2 separate regions of the Homo sapiens genome follow, and region 2 is linked to region 1. The links are contacts of gene promoters, found by promoter capture Hi-C in human tissues and cell types (Jung and others, 2019). All regions are on one chromosome and are shown on one strand. The core of a region is centred on a gene start or on the middle of the fragment in contact, and the rest is flanking DNA. Distances in the headings are between cores, read along the strand shown. Region 1 holds the start of ZSCAN1 (zinc finger and SCAN domain containing 1). Region 2 overlaps ZNF418 (zinc finger protein 418).

Region 1 (4,201 bases), core at 786-3,285:
TGGGAAGACGCCCATGGGGGGCGGCCAAGTGCTTTGTGCTGTTCATACTTCTCTGAATCTCCTCCAAATGGTGTCGGGCTCCCATGTGACCTTCATCAACATGGAAAAACAAAACAAAACAAGACATCTTTAGGAAGGATTTTTGACCATATGGGAAATGCTTATGACAAGTGAAAAGGAGGGATTCCATGGGATTTTTCCCTCTTCATCCTCTGCTGCATTTTTCATACACTCTGCAGTTCTCGTGCATCTGGTTTTACAATCCAGGAGAAAGGAGAGGTGCAGGGTGGCAGAAAGGCAACTCACGGGGACTGTGCCCAGCCAGCCATCTTCGAGTCAGCGTACCCGGCCACCTGCACCCTGATTGGGAAACTACCAGCTTGGTCTTCCCTGCCAAGGCCACAGGCAAAAATGCTCTCTTATGTTGTATTCACACTTTTATATATGTAGTTTTGAATAAGAAAAAAGGGCCTATTTTGAAGCTCCACAGGTTCAAGAAATCCCTTTGCCCTGGGGCCTCAGACCTTATACTCTCTCAGGTGCTCATGGCAGCTCACCCTGGAGACTCTAGGGAGGGGGGCTGTAGCCCCTCAGCATCCTCCAGGGTCCTGGGCTGAGGTCTGTGGGAGGAGATGCTAAGTTTATCAGGGATGAGGGTAAAGAGGAGGTCTTAGCAGAAGGCACCAGAGGTCCATGGGTGTGTCTGGGGTCTATATGGGGGCTGATGTGGAACACCTAGGCCAATGTGGGGGTACCTGAGCTGATGAGAGTCCTGGACTGATGGGTGGCTGTTTCTGGAAGATGAAGAGGGCCTGGGATGATGTGAAGGGGACTGAGGTCTACATGGCTGGTGAGGAGGATCTGGGCCCCCCCATGGGCAATGCTGTGGTGGCCCTGGGGTCCTAGAAGTCTACTTTGGTAGGGGTCTCTGATTAATGTTGGGGATGTGTGTGTGTGAGAGAGTGTCACTTGGAGGGCTCAGTGCCTGTGGAAGGGCCAGGTTCACCTGGCATGGGCACTGAGATCTGCAGCCCGAGCCCCAAATTCTATTGCGGGGATGGGCAGAAGGGCTTTGCCGCTGATGCCGGATGCTTAGTGACATAGAAGACGTGTTCACTGCGCCAGTCAGTGAATGGTTCTGGCTTTGAGAAGGGGGCTTACAGTGGGGAGGGCGTTGGGAGCTTAGGATGCCACACGGAGGAGTTCCATAATAAACGAGCTGGGGAAGTGTGCAAGGGCAGCGCACTGGGAATACAGGGGAGGGGCAGCGACGACGGCTGTGGACGGCTGGTTGGGGGGAGGATGGTGGGGTGATTGGGTGGGGGATGGGTCGGGGGCGGCTGTTCAGGAGGGAGATGGGCCTGGGGCGGGGAGGGGGAGCTTGTAGGGAGAGAGACGGGTCGGGGGCTGCTGTTCCAGTGGGGGATGGGCCCAAGGGGCCGGGTAGGGAGGGAGATGGGTCCGGGGGCGGCTGTTCAGGAGGGAGATAGGTCCCGGGATGCTGATCAGGTGTGGAAGGGAGAACTTGGACGCGGCCGAGCGGTGTTTGGGCGGGCAATGGGGGTACGTAGAGGGGCTTCGGCCTCAAACGGACAGGCGGATGCCAACAGGGGTCGGGGTCCCTGCGGAAGGGGCGGCCCCAGCCCCCCCAGTCCCCGCCCCGCGTGGCCTCTAGCCTTCCCCTTCCCTCCCCTACGGCGACCTCAGGACTCCCGATGGGCTCTGGAACCCCGGCCCGGCCCGCCCCCTCCCGGGCCCGGGCCCGCCTCCCCCGACGCGCGCCCCTGGACCGCGATCCCGGGCCAGCTCCCGCCGACGCGGCGCCGAGACCCTCCCGGGTGGGCGTCCCGATGGACGCTCTGGCGGGCGGAGGGACGGATGGGCCGCGGCGGACTCACCGCGCGCGGGCTTCGCTCGGGCCTGGGCCACTCGGTCATGGCGACCCCTGGGCTGGCGAGCGCGCCCAACGCCGCGGGCGGACCCCATCCCCGCACCCTGCGCGCCGCGGGCGGCCGCCATTGGTCCGCTGGATCACGCCGGGCGTCGGTGACAAGTCACCGCTGCGGGACTCCCGGGCAGGGGCGGGGCTGTGACGCACGAGGCGGCCGAGGCCAATCAGAAGCCGCCTGGGATGAGCGCCCCGCCCCCGCCGTGCCCTCCAGTTACCTCGGGCCGCGGTTCCAGTCGCCTTGGCAACGGGTCGCGCAGCGTCAGGGACGCTGCTGCGGAAAGTGGAGACGGTGGCGGCTGCGGGGATGCGCATGTACGATGGGGCCGCGGGGCAAAACGACGGCATTCCAGACACGCAACCGTTTTATACAGTGTCCAAGAGTAGTATGTTAAAACATTGTTTTTAATATAAATATGTTTAGTACAAGTATGTCCCAGACTAGGATCGCCACTCTTAGCAAATAAAAATACAGGACGTCGGCCGGGCGCGGTGACACGCCTGTAATCCCAGCACTTTGGGAGGCCAAGGCAGGCGGATCACGAGGTCATGAGTTCGAGACCAGCCTGACCAATATGGTGAAACCCCCGTCTCTACTAAAAATACAAAAATTACCTGGGCGTGGTGGCGCATGCCTGTAATCCCAGTTTCTCAGGAGGCTGAGACAGGAGAATCACTGGAACCGGGGAGGCGGAGGTTGCAGTGAGCCGAGATTGCTCCATTGCACTCCAGTTTTCCAGCGTGGGTGACAGAGCGAGACTCCGTCCCCCCACCCCCAAAAAAAAGAAAGAAAAAAGAAACCTCAGTTATATGTAAACTCAAGAAAAACAAGGAGGCCGGGCGCGATAGCTCACGCCTGTAATCCCAGAACTCGGGAGGCCGAGGCAGGCGGATCACCTGAGGTCGGGTGTTTCAGACCAGCCTGGCCAACATGGTGAAACCCCGTCTCTACTAAAAATACAAAAATTAGCCAGGCATGGTGGTGCGTGCCTGTAATCCCAGCTACTCGGGAGGCTGAGGTAGGAGAATCGCTGGAACTGGGGAAGCCGAGGTTGCAGTGAGCCGAGACCTGCCAACGCACTCCAGCCTTGCCTGGGCAACAGAGTGAGACTCTGTCTCAAAAAAAAAAAAAAAAAAAAAAAAAGAAAGAAAGAAAAAGAAAAACAAGGAATTAGTATCAATGTGTCCTATATTTCATATACTTTAACGAAACCTTACATAAGAACATTTCATATAAATAAGTTTTAATATTAATGTCTACAATGTAACCATGTGCCAGAATAGTAGGGTTCCACAGATACTCGTTTTGTATCTGAAATCAGGTGGGGGTGAGATCATGATGCAAGGAGGGTCCTCAGCTCTGGGACTGAGCTCAGGATAGCTGAAGCTGCTCATTGCTGAAGAAGAAGCAGGAGAGTGTGAGCTAAGAAAAGAGAGGAGGACCCACCTCCAGGGGGTCCAGCATCTGCTGGACAGCTGTTTATTGAGGGCCTATGTGTACCAGGCACTGTTCTGGACACTGGGGTGGGAGCACATCAGTGAGAGGGACTGATAGGGCTTTAGTCCCTTGGAAGCCCATGTTCATGGGGCAAACACCAGTAAACAAAGCAGATGCTTCATGGAAATATAAATACCTAGAATAAAATAAAACGAGGCCTGGAGATTAAGAGTCCCAGGAGTGGCAGGGAGGGGAGGGGCTGCCTCAGCTGGATAATCAGAGCCGTGTCTCCGCATCTTTGCTGCTGGCGGCTGGTCCCTGGAATGTTGTGTGTGAATGCCACTTTGTGCAGAAACCACTATGGGAAAACCAAATTAGGGTGCTAAGGGCTTATTATTCTCCTTCTTGAAAATTAGGCACTTGTAATGACATGGTTCATTTTCTTGGTAGCTGAAATTGGCGTGGCCCTTTGGGGCAGTGAAGGCTCATGTGTGCATTTATAACTGCCACCCATTTGGGAAATCTCCCTTGAGAGAACACTGACTTAGTCTGTCTCTAGAGTCTGGATCTAGACACCATCATAGGCCACCTGGTAACTCTAGATCCATTGGGAGGCAGCCTGGTGTCTAGCAGAGGTTTCAGTTTTTTTTTGTTTGTTTGTTTTGTTTTTTTTAAAAAGAGTCTTGCTCTTGTTGCCCAGGCTGGAGTGCAAAGGCGTGATCTTGGCTCACTGCAACCTCCACCTCTCGGGTTCAAGTGATTCTCCTGCCTAAGCCTCCAGAGTAGCTGAGATTACAGGTGCCCACCACCACATT
Region 2 (4,201 bases), core at 570-3,069, 110 kb after region 1:
AATGTGGGAAATCTTTTAGTCAAAATGGTACTCTCATTAAACATCAACGAGTTCACACTGGAGAAAGACCTTATGAGTGTGAAGAATGTGGGAAATGTTTTACTCAGAAGGGCAATCTCATTCAACATCAACGAGGTCACACTAGTGAAAGACCTTATGAGTGTGAAGAATGTGGAAAATGTTTTAGTCAAAAGGGCACCCTAACTGAACATCATCGAGTTCACACTAGAGAACGACCTTATGAGTGTGGAGAATGTGGGAAATCTTTTAGTCGAAAGGGACACCTTAGGAACCATCAGCGAGGTCACACTGGAGAAAGACCTTACGAGTGTGGAGAATGTGGGAAATCTTTTAGTCGAAAGGGCAACCTCATTCAGCATCAGCGAAGCCACACTGGAGAAAGGCCTTATGAGTGTAGAGAGTGTAGGAAATTATTTAGGGGCAAGTCCCACCTCATTGAACACCAGAGAGTTCACACTGGAGAAAGGCCATATGAATGTAATGAATGTGGGAAATCATTTCAAGACAGCTCTGGGTTTCGTGTTCATCAGAGAGTTCACACTGGAGAAAAACCGTTTGAGTGTAGTGAATGTGGGAAGTCATTTCCTCAAAGCTGTTCCCTCCTTCGACATCGGAGAGTTCATACTGGAGAAAGGCCTTATGAATGTGGAGAATGTGGAAAGTCATTTCATCAGAGCTCTTCCCTCCTTCGACATCAGAAAACTCACACTGCAGAAAGACCTTATGAGTGCAGAGAATGTGGGAAATTCTTCTCCAGTCTCCTTGAACACAGGAGAGTTCACACTGGAGAAAGGCCTTATGAATGCAGGGAATGTGGAAAAACATTTACTCGAAGGTCTGCGCATTTTAAACATCAGAGACTTCATACTCGAGGAAAGCCTTACGAGTGCAGCGAATGTGGGAAATCCTTTGCTGAAACCTTCAGTCTTACTGAACACAGGAGAGTACACACTGGAGAAAGGCCTTATGAGTGCAGTGAATGTGGAAAATCATTTCATCGAAGCTCTTCTCTCCTTCGACATCAGAGAGTTCACACAGAAAGAAGTCCTTACAAGTGAAAAGAAATTTGGGAAATTCTTTAGCTAAACCTCTGTGCATCTTCTTGATCAGAGGGTTCTTACTGGATCAGGACCTTATGAGTGTGACAAACGTGGGATATTCTTTATGCAGAAGTCTTGTTTTATTACATACAGAAGAGCTCCCACTGCAGAAGGGCCTCTTGAGTGCGATGAATGTGAGAAAGCCTTCTGCCTTCTGTCATTGGATAACAGATTGTTCTCATAAGGAAAACACTGTACACGTACAGGAAATATTATTTCTTGTAAAACATAACACTGGAGGAGATGCCTTATGACGGAGCCATCTGCCTAAATTGACATACCTTCAGCATCTGCATAAACTCAATTATGTTGGAGCTGTGTGGCATTTTTCACCCTGCCGGGTTCCCTTGCCAGACATGATGTCGGTTATCTGGCAAAAGCCATTTTATGTCGGCCACGAGGCAGGTGTTCACTGTGCATCATTCATTCACCCCATGATGTTCTGGAAGTAAACCTTGGTTGTCTTTCGTTGGCCAGAGGAATTGGTGAGTAGTCTCAGCTGTCATTCCTTTCTCATTTCTTTCGGATGAGCGAGACCATGGATCTGTCTCAGTACTGGTCCAGAGGGGTCTTCTGTCAGCTTGAAAAGATGGACTACCTTTTTCAGGGACCTTATGGGTCTCATGTGATATTTTTTTTTTTTTTTTGAGACAGAGTCTCGCTCTGTCGCCCAGGCTGGAGTACAGTGGCGTGATCTCAGCTCACTGCAAGCTCCGCCTCCCGGGTTCACGCCATTCTCCTGCCTCAGCCTCCCGAGTAGCTGGGACTACAGGTGCCCACCACCATGCCCAGCTAATTTTTTTGTATTTTTAGTAGAAATGGGGTTTCTCCGTGTTAGCCAGGATGGTCTCGATCTCCTGACCTCATGATCTGCCCTCCTTGGCCTCCCAAAATGCTGGGATTACAGGCGTGAGCCACCGCACCCAGCGGGTCTCATGTGATTCTTTAGGCTCTTAAGTTCCAACCAAAGAACATTCTGCTTCCCATTGCTCTGATTTGTGCAATGAATAAGGCCTTATTGTTTAAGCTTCCTTCAGTCTTGAGAGTTGTATTTACTCTTTCGGGTGGTTTGGAAACAACTGGGTTCTGGTGTCATAAAGGGGCAGACAGCTTTTGTTGGGATCACTAGACTTTGTGTGCCTCAGAGGGGACAGTATGATGACAGAATATACTGTCTCTTCACTTGTGGCATAGTTTTCATGGCTGCCCAAGGCCTCCAAAGACTCCAGAACTTTGTGGTCCTTATTTGTTGACTAGATACTCCAATAATTTCTGGGTTTATAGATAAACCTGAGAAGGGAACAGTGTTTGTGACATCCTCTGATGCTTCTGAGATCGACACGAAAATTTCCTCTCTTTTACAAGGGATATTGCATTCTGCTCAGTACTGCTGAGGGAAATCTGTTCCCTAGGTCCTGGAATGCAGCCATGTGCTCTGATATCCAGAGTTTCGTAGTGTGGTGTCCCAGGTTATGAGATTATAACAGGAAGTCATAATTTATAGAATTTCTGCATTTATAGGCAGTGGAGGACACTGCAAGAACAGAGTTGGAATGCACGTCATCCACATTGATTCAGTTACTATGTATGTGGTGGACTGTCAGGTACAGAAATTCTCAGAACCTCCATAATTATGAATCTTGTGTAGCTGAGGCCATTGTCAAAGGAAATAATATAAAGGATTCGTGGATTCCTGTACCCTTTCTCGGCTGTTCACCTCAAGGCAATTCCTGCATTGGCAGGAGGAAGAGGATAGGGAGAAGGGAGATCTCTTAGTCCAGTGATGTGGTCTTTGTGACCAACCAGTGTTCCAATTTAATCAGGTGAAAATGGCCTTCCTGGCTTATCAGTATTTGCTGCCGCAGAGACTCATTGCTGCACTTAGGACATGAGGAGATTTTGTATAGTTGTCAAGCATGTTTGTCAAAAATAATAGAAAATCCATGTTTTTCTTTTTTTTTTTTTCTAAGACAAGGTGTTGCTCTGTGACCCAGGCTGGAGTACAGTGGCGAGATCATAGTTCACTGCAGCCTCGAACTCCTCAAGCAATCCTTTTCCCTCAGCCTCCCAAAGTGCTGGGATTACAGGCCTCAGCCATCATGTCCAGCCCACATTTTTCTTTTGAATCAATTCTTTAAAGCCATAATAAGGAATAAATGACATTCTGTAAACTATACATATTTAAACTGTACCATGTGGTAAGTTTAGACTTTCATAGAAACCCATGAAAGTGGCCAGGCACGGTGGCTCACGCCTGTAATCCCAGCACTTTGGGAGGCTGAGGCAGGCGGATCACGAGGTCAGGAGATCGAGACCATCCTGGCTAACATGGTGAAACCCCGTCTCTACTAAAAAAATACAAAAAATTAGCTGGGCGTGGTGGCAGGCGCCTGTAGTCCCAGCTACTCGGGAGGCTGAGGCAGGAGAATGGAGTGAACCCGGGAGGTGGAGCTTGCCGTGAGCCAAGATCGCACCACTGTACTCCAGCCTGGGTGACAGAGCAAGACTCGGTCTCAAAAAATATATATATATGTGTATATATGTGTGTGTGTGTGTGTGTGTGTGTGTATGTATATATATGTATATATGTATATATGTGTGTGTATATATGTATATACATGTATGTATATGTATGTATATATGTATATATATGTGTGTATATATGTATGTGTGTGTATATGTATATATATATATATTTTGCATCCCTTGGCATAAATGGGTTAGGTAAGTGTGTCACTAAATAGAAAAATACTCCCGTCTGCAATGAATTAGAAAGTTGCTTTTGATTCTTTCTTAATTTTTTTTGTTTTTGAGACAGAATGTCCGTCTGTCTGCCCAGGCTGGAGTGGCACGATCTCAGCTCACTGCAGCCTCCACCTCCAGGGTTCAAGCGATTCTCCTGCCTCAGCCTCCCGGGTAGGTGGGATTACAGGCATGCACCACCATGCCCGGTTAATTTTTGTATTTTTAGTGGAGATGGGGTTTTACCATGTTGTTCAGGCTGGTCTTGAAGTCCTGACCTTGTGATGATCTGCCCGCCTCGGCCTCCCAAAGTGCTGGGATTTCAGGCATGAGCCATA

The links. Contacts are between HindIII fragments. The study calls those that stand out against the background at their distance.
Region 2: a fragment that was not itself captured here is called in contact with the fragment with the promoter of ZSCAN1 in region 1 in 2 of the 25 tissues and cell types used here (neural progenitor cells and spleen).

The regions. Positions count from the first base shown.
Region 1 is chr19:58,031,859-58,036,059 of GRCh38, reverse strand. It overlaps ZSCAN1 (zinc finger and SCAN domain containing 1), which reads right to left and starts at 2,035. Exons shown (of 6, transcript NM_182572.4): 1 at 1,899-2,035; 2 at 49-90. The HindIII fragment of the contact is 19,074 bases long and covers 1-4,201 here.
Region 2 is chr19:57,923,028-57,927,228 of GRCh38, reverse strand. ZNF418 (zinc finger protein 418) reads left to right here. Exons shown (of 6, transcript NM_133460.3): 4 at 1-1,606; 5 at 3,940-4,037. The coding sequence ends at 1,079. Among named protein-coding and RNA genes, the nearest start is that of ZNF417, 8.5 kb to the right of the region's middle. The HindIII fragment of the contact is 9,147 bases long and covers 1-4,201 here.